4 separate regions of the Homo sapiens genome follow, and all the other regions are linked to region 3. The links are contacts of gene promoters, found by promoter capture Hi-C in blood cells and fetal thymus (Javierre and others, 2016). All regions are on one chromosome and are shown on one strand. Each heading gives the region's core, a stretch centred on a gene start or on the middle of the fragment in contact. The rest is flanking DNA. Distances are from core to core; before and after follow the strand shown.

Region 1 (2,899 bases), core at 90-2,589, 1.3 Mb before region 3:
TTTTACAGTTACAAATAATGCTTGAAATGACTAACCTTATGAATATATACCTTTGTAATGTTGGAGATGTAGCTCTAGGGCAAGCTTATCCAACCCGCAGCCCATGGACCACATGTGGCCCAGATGGCTTTGAATGTGGCCTGATACAAACTTGTAAAGTTTCTTAAAACGTTATGAGAATTTTTGCAATTTTTTTTAGCTCACCAGCTATCATTAGTGTTAGTGTATTTTATGTACAGCCCAAGACAATTCTTCTTCGAATGTGGCCCAGGAAAGCCAAAAGATTGGACCCCTCTGTCCTAGGGTAAATTCTTACAAGTAGGATTTCTGGGTTGAAGAGTGTATGCATATGCAGTTTCATTAGATACTGCCAAATTTGTCTCCATTATACTATTTTGGATTCCTACCAACAGTTGTAGGAGAGTCCCTGTTTTTCCACAGTCTCACCAGCAGAGTATATTTCAGGCTTTTGAAGTTTTGCTTGTTCTGTTGGGTGAAAAATGATATCTCAATGTAGTGTTAATTTGTATGTCTATGGTTACGAATGAAGTATCACAATTTTTTATATTTTAAGGGCCATTATGACTTTCTTTGATTTGTCTTTTTTTGTCTTTTGCCCATTTTTTGATAGCATTTTTGGTCTCTTTCCCTGATTTTTCAAGGTCCTTTGTAAGCTTGAGATACAACCTCCTCACACTCCCCTTATTTTTCTGTGATGTATGCTGCAGTATTTTCCCTTAGCTTGTCATTTATCTTTTGACTTTGCTACTAATTGATTTTTGCCATGCAAAAGTTTTCCCCACACTCAAGTTATAGAGGAATTCATTTGTGTTTTCTTCTAGTGCTTTTGTAGTTTTACATTTTTTCTTTTTAGATCTCTGGTTCATTTGGAGATTATTCTCCAGTATGATGTGAAGAATGGATTTAATTTACCTTTTTCCAAATGCTAAAGCTTTTATTCTTAATCTTGTTCTTGGACTTTAAAAACTTTTTTTGTCAATTGAGAATAATTCTTTTAGATATATACATGTAGAAAATGATTAATATATATACATACACATAGACTAGACCACAGAGTTAAAAAATATGGTTGCCAGTATGGGTAATATTTTTTTGTTGAGTAGATGAGGCTAGATTTTGAAATTATCTTCACAGCTGTCAATATATGGACCATTTATAGTGTGTTGAGGGGCAAGGAGACCTGCTTCTGTTTGCTTTAGGGCAGCTCCTCACAGTGGGTAGTATATTTGGAACGTCTGACTGTTCATATAGTACAATTAATAGAAAATGAGAGGAGGATCTTTGCAAAGGTGCTGCTGAAATATATTTTCGTAATTTGTGTTTGTAGTTTAAGTATAGCTTTAGGACATCAGTCAATTTTTGGTGCTTTTGTTTTGAAACATAATAACCAATAATTGTGAATAGACACAGGTCTTAAGCACAGTTTGTCCTCTCTTGGGCCTTTTGCCTCATCGATGGGTGGTACCTTCTGAAGGACTGGAGAAATACGTAGCTCTGTGTCCTTCTCCATGGCCATAGTTTTCACAAAACATTTGTTGATATTTTTCTTTTGGTTGCCTTTTAAATAGTTTTTTAAAAAAAATTCATGTGTCTAATCCCCTTTTTATTTTAAAGGTACAAAATTGAAATGTATGTAGTTTCCCAAATGTATTGCTCACTTACTACTCATGGTTCGTGATTTTTCTCAGGGATATAGAGTAGGGTAGAAAGCTTCTGGGAGACTGAAAGGAGAAAAATAATCTTTTCATGCCTAAATACTTTTCCTTTTTTCCTTTAGACTGTTTGCTACTGTTGTTTAGAATGACATTATGAGCGGCAGAAACACACTTTTCTTTCAATTTTAACAAATACATTGGTTTTCATTTTAGTAAAAATTCTTTTTTTAAAGTGTGTGTCTCCACTTTCCCAAAGGGGAAGAGACATAGCATTGTGTCATCTCTTAGTTGTTAGGAAGTGCTACTATTCTCATGTGAGTTTGGCTAAAGGAATGATCATCATGAATTTATTGAATACCTATTAATGGCACAGCCCTGTCTGTGATACAGTACAAGACTTGTGAATGGCATATATAACACTCTTATTAACAGAGTGTGTAGCTTTACTTAATTTAATGTAATTTGTTTAGTAGCATATTTTGCTTTTGTTTATCTAATTGGTGAGTGAATATGTATTTACTTCAATTGGTGCTAATCCCAAAGGAGGTAGTATGATATAAAGAAAAGAATAAATAGAGCAAAGTTTAAATCTTTTTACCAATTAGTATGTGACTTTGGGCAAGATTCTTAACTTGTCTGGGTTTCACGTCTATCATTTGTAAAATGGTAATACTAATATATTGTGAGGATTAAGTGAGGCAATATGTGTATATCATATTTCTAGGAAGTTGCCTGACACGTGGTAGACATTTAGTGAACTGTAATGGTTATCATTATTACTTTTTGATTATTATTTTGATGATATTTTAGATGCCTTTTTGGTGAAAGATGTTAGATGTAGCTAATATTAAATGGTGATGATAAAGAATTTGACCATAAACTCATTTTCTAGTACTCTTTTTGGCTAATTTCCAAGATATTAGTAATTTGCAACTGTTGGCAGGTTATAGCAGCAGGCAAGGGAATTGAAATATAAAATTATAAATGTCAAATTCTTTGTTTATAATTAATATGTGCAAGTGGATGCCAGTTGCTTTAGGTAGCACAGAACTCTGCAGCCGTAGATCTGATCCCCTCTCATCCCCTCTGTCAAGTGAGTCAGCTCCTCCAGTAATGAGAATTCACCCAGAAGACTAATGTATACTCCTTGGCCATGTCTACCTTCAGATGACCCATAGGTGGAAGGAAAGGAGTGTAGCTCCTTTTGAAGTTTTATCATTGTA
Region 2 (2,705 bases), core at 173-2,672, 1.2 Mb before region 3:
ACTGATGGAGATAGACTCAAAACAGTTATTTTTTTACAATTAATCTACAAAGGGAATTAATATTGTTGACTTTTAAAACATCTGCTGGATATATTATATGCAATTAATAGTAGTTAAGAATTTATTCATTTGGTAGATATGTTTATTTGGTTTTTGGTTGTCATCGATTTACATTGCCACTAATAAACCATATTGAGAATTTCTAAAATTGTGTCATATCTAGTTGTCTTCATGGGGGATGTGATGAGGGAAATAAATTTTTATTTAGAAATTCCAGACAAGGAAGGAATAACAATGCTAATAGTGATGATAAGAAAGGCTAAGACCTGACAACCTAGAAAGATTCCAAACTCCTTAAGGCCTGTCTACATTTGAAGCTCTTTTGTACCTTGGATTTGCTCCTGCATTCCTAACCGTTGACTGTTGCTCAAGTTAACTACCCACAATTTTTGGTTTAGAAAGTAACGGATAGTTAAAAGCAGTAACAGCAACACAAATGCTTGATGGTTCCTTAATGGTATTAAGCCTAATCAGTGCCCTTTGAAATAGAAGCTATATTTTTCTTGAAGGAGAAACTTTGCTGAGTCCACATTGTGTCCATCATGAAAATATCTTGCTTGAAAACCACTATACCCATTAATTCAGGATGCTAATAGCTTTCTTGCCTTTGGTGGTCAAATGTACCTCAGCAGGGTGGCAGTAAATGGATCCTCTCTCTCTAACCAGAGCCTGTATTTATTATTATTATTATTTTAGTGTTACTGCTGACTTTTATGGACTCAGAGTATTAATGTGCACAGCTTAGGACCTCTAAAAGTATAGTGCTGCCCAAGCAAAGAGACATCAGGCTATCTGCTTTGCTCTCTTTTTCTTGTCTTGCAGTTCAGGATTTCAGCAGCAGATCTCAAACATTTCACTGATTATTTTGTTTGGGTTTCTGGATGTGATTTGTGGTACACTGGGGGGAAATCTAAAAGTATTCAAGGATGATTTATTTTCAGTTTTTCTGTTTAAACCATCTTATTTAAAATGTTTCGAGGTTATATGGGAGGTGAGTTTGAAACTTTGTCACTGACTCAATTTGGAATATGAGATTTTAGCTTAGCCCCTTTTTTGGGTGGTCACAAAGATTAGTCCAAATAGTTCTGGAAAGTTGGAATATTAATTTTAGTCACATTATCCTTAAAAATTATCCAACACTTAAAAAATATTTGAAATTATTTGTTATTACTACTAATTGAGGTCTTCTAAACTATGATTCCTATTATGAGGCTTATTTTTGTATTAATCAGGAAGTTCAGTTTCCCATTCCTGAAATGTCACTAGGCTCAGAGTATAATTTGTTTAGTTGGTACTTATAAATAAAAAAGAAACCTGATTACTTCCAAACTATTTTGGTTTTAGAGCATAGGTCTCAAGCCCTCTTATTTTAACGAGAGAGTTTTATTTTTTGGCGTTAGGATCTTATTACTTTCGGCGTAAGTTACAGCAGATCCTTTCCAGGATTGCTCTGGTTTTCTATGTTACCACTGTATTCCTCATGTGCTTACAGCAACAATATCACCTAGCAAATTGCCTGCATTTCAGAAAGTCCTGTAGTTTGGATTTACAGTATAATCTGTGAAGGAATTCTAGGTGGTCTGTGGACTGGCCTATTTTAATGTTTATAATATGACAAAATGTATAATTTTGTTTCTGGCATATATTAAATATCCATAAACTCCAGACGGTTACCTTGGTGGTGTTCATCAGAGGTGCCTCCTTCCCGTCTATTCTGGTGAGTACTTTTTGCTCTAATAGCTGGGAGGAAATAGTGGAGTAGGTGGTCTTTGTGTTTAGCCAAAGTGGCCAGCAGATTTTGAAAAGTTTAAAATCTGCTACAATTTTCTCAGCCACTTCCTGCCCAGGGTGACCCAGCTTTGGGCCAGCTTGCCACTGATTTCCTTATGACTAACTCTTTAAATACAAGGATTGAGCAATAAAACATTTTCAAACTGTTTAAGCTCTGGGAGGTAAGTCAGTATTGCCACTATTTCCTTGTTGAGAAAACTCACTCAAATATTGAGATTCCCTACATATTTAAGAAGGATGGCAATTATAAGTAAAAACAAAACAAAAAACAACAACAACAACCTTATTTCAAGTTTTGTAGGGGAAAGTAGAGTATGTGTTAACATCACGGGAGGCATTGTAGTGGGTGTGTTTATTTTATTGGGTTAAAATTGTGCTTTAAAAGTTTGAGACATGGAAATAGCTTTTAAGGTAATATGTTTTATACTCGTAAATTAAAGAAGCAGGGATTTGACTTTTTTTCAACACCAGGAAATTAGACGTTGAGGTTGTGTTATATAGATGCCAATATAAGCAACTCTGGCTCTTGAATAAAAGTTCTTAGTCGTTTGGTGTTAGAAGAACTGCTGACATCTTATGCTGGAAATATTATCAAATATTGCTTATCCAAAGAGATATGGAATAAAACATAATGTTTCTCTGTTGAAAACTGAAGGTGACTTTTTTGGGAAATGATCTTATTTTCCATCCCATTGTAATAAATCTCCCTTGAAAAAGCACAGTGGAACTAGGCTCATGTTAATAGTTCTAACAGGAAAAAAATTCTTTGTAGATAAAGCAAGGCATAAATAAACTCATTAATGCATTGCAGTGGTGGAAATGGAGGTGAGTGTTGCCAAGGCAATTGATGACCT
Region 3 (2,790 bases), core at 257-2,756:
GAAGGAAGAGCCAACAGGTTATATGCCAAATGCATATAAGACATAAAAGAGAGGAGTTAAAGGTGGGTTTGAACAAGGAAAGATGCAACCATTTACTGAAATACAAAGACCTTGGGTATGAGTGAGAAGGGGTTGAACTAGCTGACATCTTACAGTCTGTGCCTGGATTCAAATCTCAGCTGTGTGTGTCTCTCTCTCTGTAAAATGGGAATAATAATAGTGCCTACCTCATAGTTTATTATGAGAATTAAGTGGGTATATATGAATAAAGCACTTAGAGCAACACCTGGCACATTGTTAGTTAATATTAGCATTACCTCTTCAAGCTGGAATCTTCGAGTACATATCAAATTTTAGCTATTCTCTGTTCATGGGCTGTGTAGGATAGAGGGACAAAACTGAGTGGCTAATAAGAAGATAAAGATAGAAAACTAAGCTTAAAGTTAAAGGATATACACTTCAATATTTCTACATGTATGGAACAGTATTGCATACACGCGCAAGCATCACTGAACTAGATGCACCCTTCAAGAGATTGGGTTACATATTGATATATATGAATGAGAACCCTGAAATAAACTGATTTCAGAGGAATAACAGAAAACATATACATTTCTATACCTATAAGGACACTGAAAACTTCCAATCCTGAATCAAACAGTTAATGAAATCCCAAAATGCAACACTAATGCAAATGAGAAGACGCTGTCATAGAATGTTGAAATACATACTCTTCTAAAGATAAAAGGTCTGCTCTTCCACCCTCTTCATTTTCCTACAAATTAGGAAAATTTAATCAGTTCTGAAAAAGGAAATGTACATGCTAAAATGGTGAATTACTGCTAGAGTTCTGATGTTTAAAACCACAGGCTTGCGATCAAAATAACCTCTTTAATTTTAGATTATCATGCAGATTAATTTCTTCAGTTTCTCAGGCACTATTCTGTTTTTTTTAAAAAAAGGGTGGGGTTTCAAAAGAAAACTAATACTCATTTTTTCCCCGATTAAATTGCTCAACCATTAAAAAGGAGAACAAATTGGAAAGTCCTACAGTACTCTCTCCCCTCCGTCCCCCCCCTCCCCATTTTTTTTCTTGAAAGGGAACAAGCAGTACTTTTGCTAAGGGATCTTTAAGCCGAAACTCAGCTAGGCGCCCCAGAGCTTCCTCAGGATAGCAAAGCTGGATTTTTGAGCAGCACCACCTGCTGGTCCTACACACGTTTTACTTCCTCCACCCCAAATCTCTTTCTGTTGGAACTGCACTCTTTCAGAGCCTCTGGGCCCTAATACAAAGCAAGCACACTCTAAAGAAGCCAGAAGAATGCAAGCAGCGAAGTCGCCGCTCCCCACAGGCAAGAGAGTACCGGCAGACAGCGGCGCGAGACAGGGGCAGAACGATGAGGCGCCGGAGTTAGCTCGCCGGTGCGGGTGCGGGTGCGCGGCGCGTCGCGGCCCCTCCTCCGCGACGCGCCGGGTGGTCACGTGACGGCCGCGCGCGTTCCCGGCAGCTGCGGGCTCCGAGGCCAGAGAGAAAAGACTGCGAGGTGGCCGCAGCTGTGGCCGGAGAGGTGGGAGTCGGAGCGAGGCCCTCTCGGGGGAGCAGGGTGAACGCCGGCCACTCTAGGATCCTCACTCGGGGAGAGGAGGCATAGCTCGCGGTGTCACCTCCAGCCGCAACGTACTCCGGGTCGGCCTTGCGCTCGGGGCCTGAGAGGGGCGGCGGCGGGGTCAGGGGCCGGTACGTAGATGGACGCCCTTGGGCTGGCGCGGCCCCGGCTGTCCGCGCAGAGGCGGGATGGGACAGTTCAGCCCTTTCCGCCACCCCCGCCTTGGCTGCTGGGGCAGGCAAGACGACCGTGACAGCCCCTGCGCTGCCCGAGGGCGCCGCAGCCCCTGCCCTGGGTGACGGCCGGAGCTGGTCTCGGTCCGGGTGCGAGGGGCGGAGCAGCGGCCATTACTGCGCAGCCTCTTCCGCCTGAGCCCGCTTCGCTGCCTCGGGTGGCAGGCGGGTCCCTCTCCTCCCCTCTGGGCCGTGGTTTTAGGCCTTTACCCGGGGACCTTCTGGCCTCGAGGTGTAGGGGCGGCGATGGTTTTTCGGCGGTAGCCTGCTCCATGTTTTCCCGTGTGGGGTCAGACAGTTTGGGCCTTGGGTCAGATCGAAGCCAGGGCGTACAGTCTGCATTTTTGCCTTTTCCCGGAGTGTCTCTGGCTGCTGCTTTCTCTTCTCTCGCTCTTCCTCCTTTTTTTTCTCCTGCTCAGTGTCTCGGTCTTGCCTAAAACGAAGAGAGCAATCCCTGCACCTTGTCCTAGTGAAGCCCAGCGCTGCATATTCTTAGTTGTTTTTGACGGCTGTTGAAGCATCGGAACAATTAAGAGATCTCAGAATATCCCTTGAGCCTCCAAACCCTCTGCATCTTAAAAGCTGAGGCTGTTGCTTTGTTCTGATTGTTGGGTGGGGAGTTCTCTTCCTACCCTCCATCCCGTCTGAAGGAGTGTGGGTCTTCCATTGTTGTCGCTATTTATTTTGCTAAGGCTTCTAAAGAATGTAAAATTGTTTTAAGAGTGGAGACGGAACCGTCCTCTCCACAGGTAAAACCTACAGGACTGTAAGTTTACACACACATCCTGGCAACTAGAATCTTTTCTCGTTAATCATATTGGTATATGTTTTAATTTATTTTCTCTAAGTGCCATTTTAGTGAGCACTTATTTCTCAAGTTTTGAACATTTTGTTTAATATTTTTGTAATATCGAAACAGTGTAGAACTGAGGAGAGAAGAAAGCCCAAAG
Region 4 (2,756 bases), core at 230-2,729, 1.1 Mb before region 3:
CAAGGCAGTCGGGGCAAGCATGCTATGAGAAGTCAACTGGTAAGCAGACCCCAGAGATGAGAAGCATATGGGAAGCCAACCCCATGATTTGCTTCCTTAAAAAGTATGGGCTGTGGATGGATTTTAAATCCTACTCTAAATACAAGACTGGTGTTAGCGGTTGTTTGCAGGAAAACCAAAGGAACTTAGCATCCTTCAGTGTGTTACAGAGACTGTGTGGCCTCAAGCAGTGAAGTGAAGAATTCTTTTTGTCTTTTTCCTCATATGCCCAACCTGGAAACCAGCAGAATTTTTGATGGTGCATCTGGTTCCTGGTGTGCTGCAGAAGTGATTAGTGTGTCATGTCACTGTGGCCTCTTTCTCTGCCCCAGGAGAATGTCTGGGGAACAGAAGAGCAGAGTCCTGCCTGGGATCATGTGGGTGGGGGAGCTATTCCTTCTCAACAGATAGTGTGAGAAGCACTGATCCAAGGTCCTGGCTGCTCAAAGTGTGTTCCTAGGAGCTTGCTGGACATGCAGAATCTCAAGTTCCATCCCAGAACCTGATGTTTTTATTTGGAGCACTGGCCTTGGCAACACATGTTCCTTCCTCACCTTTCTGCAGCCTCTCACTCCCCACTGTCGCCCACTCCTCATAGGCTATCCTCAGGAATGGCATTGGTGGAGTGTTGGTGAAGGTGTAGCTGCAAGCATTCTGATCTTTATTTTACAAACTCTAAACCCAGAAGACTCCAAACCCAGAAAAGTCTAAGTCACAGAAAGCAAAGGAACAGTCTTATTTCAGACACATCTACAGTCTTTGCTGGTTAAATGTCAGGAAGCCCACAAAAAGCTGCCAGACATTTCAGGGTATGAATTTCGTATCTGTACTTCTTGACATCTGCTGGGCTACCATGCCCTTCAATTTACCAAAATATGGAAATTTCCTTATGGCATTCTACCCAAATAATGAGGAAAATGTTGATGCTTCTCTCAGCCTCAGGACCTTAAAGCCACACTGTTCCTAACCACGCTTGCCTATATGGCACTTAGCACTTTACACAAAAAACAAACAGAGGTGTTTATTCCCTGGCAGTTAATATAAATGCTTTCTGTTTTGTAAAATAGGAACAGTATTTGATTCCATTATCACAGATCTCTTGTGGACAAGTCAAAATTCTTCAATTAAGGTTATATCTAGTTAAAGGAATTTTTCTCTTTGGTCTACATCCCCACCCTGAATGTCCTTGCCTGTTAGTTCCTTGCAGGTGAAAGGTAAAAAACCTTTGCAACTTCATGCTATAATTGTGCCTTTGAATTTTCAGAGGAAAAGACAGTGAGAGAGCAAGAGCAGATTGAGAAGCAGAAGAGTGAGTCGCAAAAAGAGAAAATGACAGAAATGGAGCACCCTGGTGAGTCCCAACCACATCCATTCTTGATGATAACAACCAAAGCTCAGAAAATGATTTCTTACAGAATGTTGTATCAAAAGGAGCATATTGTATGTGCAAAGTTGCTGCAGCTTTCCTAAGTTGGCTTCAAACTATCCAACTATGATGTTAACATATTACCTTCAGCCAGTATGATACACATATTGGAATGTTTTGTATCATTGACTACTTTTCCTGTGTCTGTCCACTCTACTGTTTCAAACCCCTGGTACTGGGACAGTGATTGAACCCAGGTATTCTTGTCAATAATAGTTGGAGGGGCTTAGCAATAGATCAAGGTATAGAAGAATTAAACCTGCTATAGCTTGATCTACTTTGAGATTAGAGTGTACAGGGTCCTCTCCAACCTGACACACTTGGCCCTTTTCTGACATAGGTTTAGTAAGTTTTGTGTGCATTTGTAGATATTTTTTCATTCCTAGGGGTTTGGCTTCATTGAGATGTGAGTTGTGGAGCCAAAATACCAGAGAGGCTGACTGTTTTTGTAGCAAGAGTTAGTTTATTTTGTGGTTGGGTTTGAAAAAGAAAAAGCTAAAAACTGCCCTCAAATATCTGATTTAGCTGATTGCTAGGTTATCTAAATCAACTTGAAAACTTTGGATAAGCATTATTCAAACACTAAAGGCAACAAAAGTCTATTTCATTATGTTTGCTCTGATACCTAGCTTCCCGGCTGACTTCTTTTCCAGTTCCTTTCATCCTTTCACAAACCTGAGGAATGAACATACAGAAAAGGCATTTTACTTAGTTACTATTAGAAAGCATGAATATCATCAACTCATATATCTTTATTCAGTTTAGTACTCTGCAGACATCCTTGTTGGATATTTTATTCTGGGATTGTTAGAACTAAAGTTAGCCTTAATGACTTAAAGCAATGATTTTCATAAATTTCTCCTGAAATGATGTTTTGGTACAAAATGCCCTGAAAATGATTTAACTATAGATAACACTGAGAATTTTACTTACTGCTGCTCATCAGAAAGACACCCTGGGTCTCCTTTCCCTCTCTCCACCCCTTATCCCCTTTCTCAGAGATTAATTGAGGAAACATTTAAAAAAGTTTTCAGTTTTGGTTAGGAAATAACATCATTAAGCAAGTTTTGCTGGGTGATGTGTAATCACTGAAACGCCAATTTGTTCAGGAAGCAGGAATTAACACCTTTGCTCTAGTGAAAAAGAAATTGGTACAAGACTTTAAGGAAGTCAAAATGATGAAGTTTGGATTAAGCTCTTAGCAGGAAAGGCAAAGGCCACAGTGAAAGCAATCCTGAGCTGGCCAGCCCTGTAAACAACTGCTAGCCCCTGGTTAAGTGTCTTTTTCTTT

Evidence for each region. Contacts are between HindIII fragments. The CHiCAGO score rates a contact against its expected background, and 5 or more counts as called.
Region 1: a contact is called between a fragment that was not itself captured here and the fragment with the promoter of RNF146 in region 3, in 2 of 17 cell types (total CD8 T cells and naive CD8 T cells). The highest score is 6.1, in total CD8 T cells.
Region 2: a fragment that was not itself captured here is called in contact with the fragment with the promoter of RNF146 in region 3 in 1 of 17 cell types (M2 macrophages); the score reaches 6.0 in M2 macrophages.
Region 4: a fragment that was not itself captured here is called in contact with the fragment with the promoter of RNF146 in region 3 in 1 of 17 cell types (M2 macrophages); the score reaches 5.5 in M2 macrophages.

Annotation. Positions count from the first base shown.
Region 1 is chr6:126,003,087-126,005,985 of GRCh38, forward strand. All of the region lies in intron 7 of TRMT11 (tRNA methyltransferase 11), which reads left to right. Among named protein-coding and RNA genes, the nearest start is that of TRMT11, 18 kb to the left of the region's middle. The HindIII fragment of the contact is 779 bases long and covers 951-1,729 here.
Region 2 is chr6:126,039,069-126,041,773 of GRCh38, forward strand. It overlaps TRMT11 (tRNA methyltransferase 11), which reads left to right. Exons shown (of 13, transcript NM_001031712.3): 13 at 1-208. Among named protein-coding and RNA genes, the nearest start is that of TRMT11, 54 kb to the left of the region's middle. The HindIII fragment of the contact is 4,354 bases long and covers 1-2,705 here.
Region 3 is chr6:127,265,358-127,268,147 of GRCh38, forward strand. RNF146 (ring finger protein 146) reads left to right here and starts at 1,507. Exons shown (of 3, transcript NM_001242850.2): 1 at 1,507-1,568. RefSeq lists silencers at 1,466-1,565, 1,666-1,935 and an enhancer at 2,136-2,195. The HindIII fragment of the contact is 5,432 bases long and covers 435-2,790 here.
Region 4 is chr6:126,173,522-126,176,277 of GRCh38, forward strand. It overlaps a transcript of TRMT11 not described here. Among named protein-coding and RNA genes, the nearest start is that of CENPW, 170 kb to the right of the region's middle. The HindIII fragment of the contact is 4,515 bases long and covers 1-2,756 here.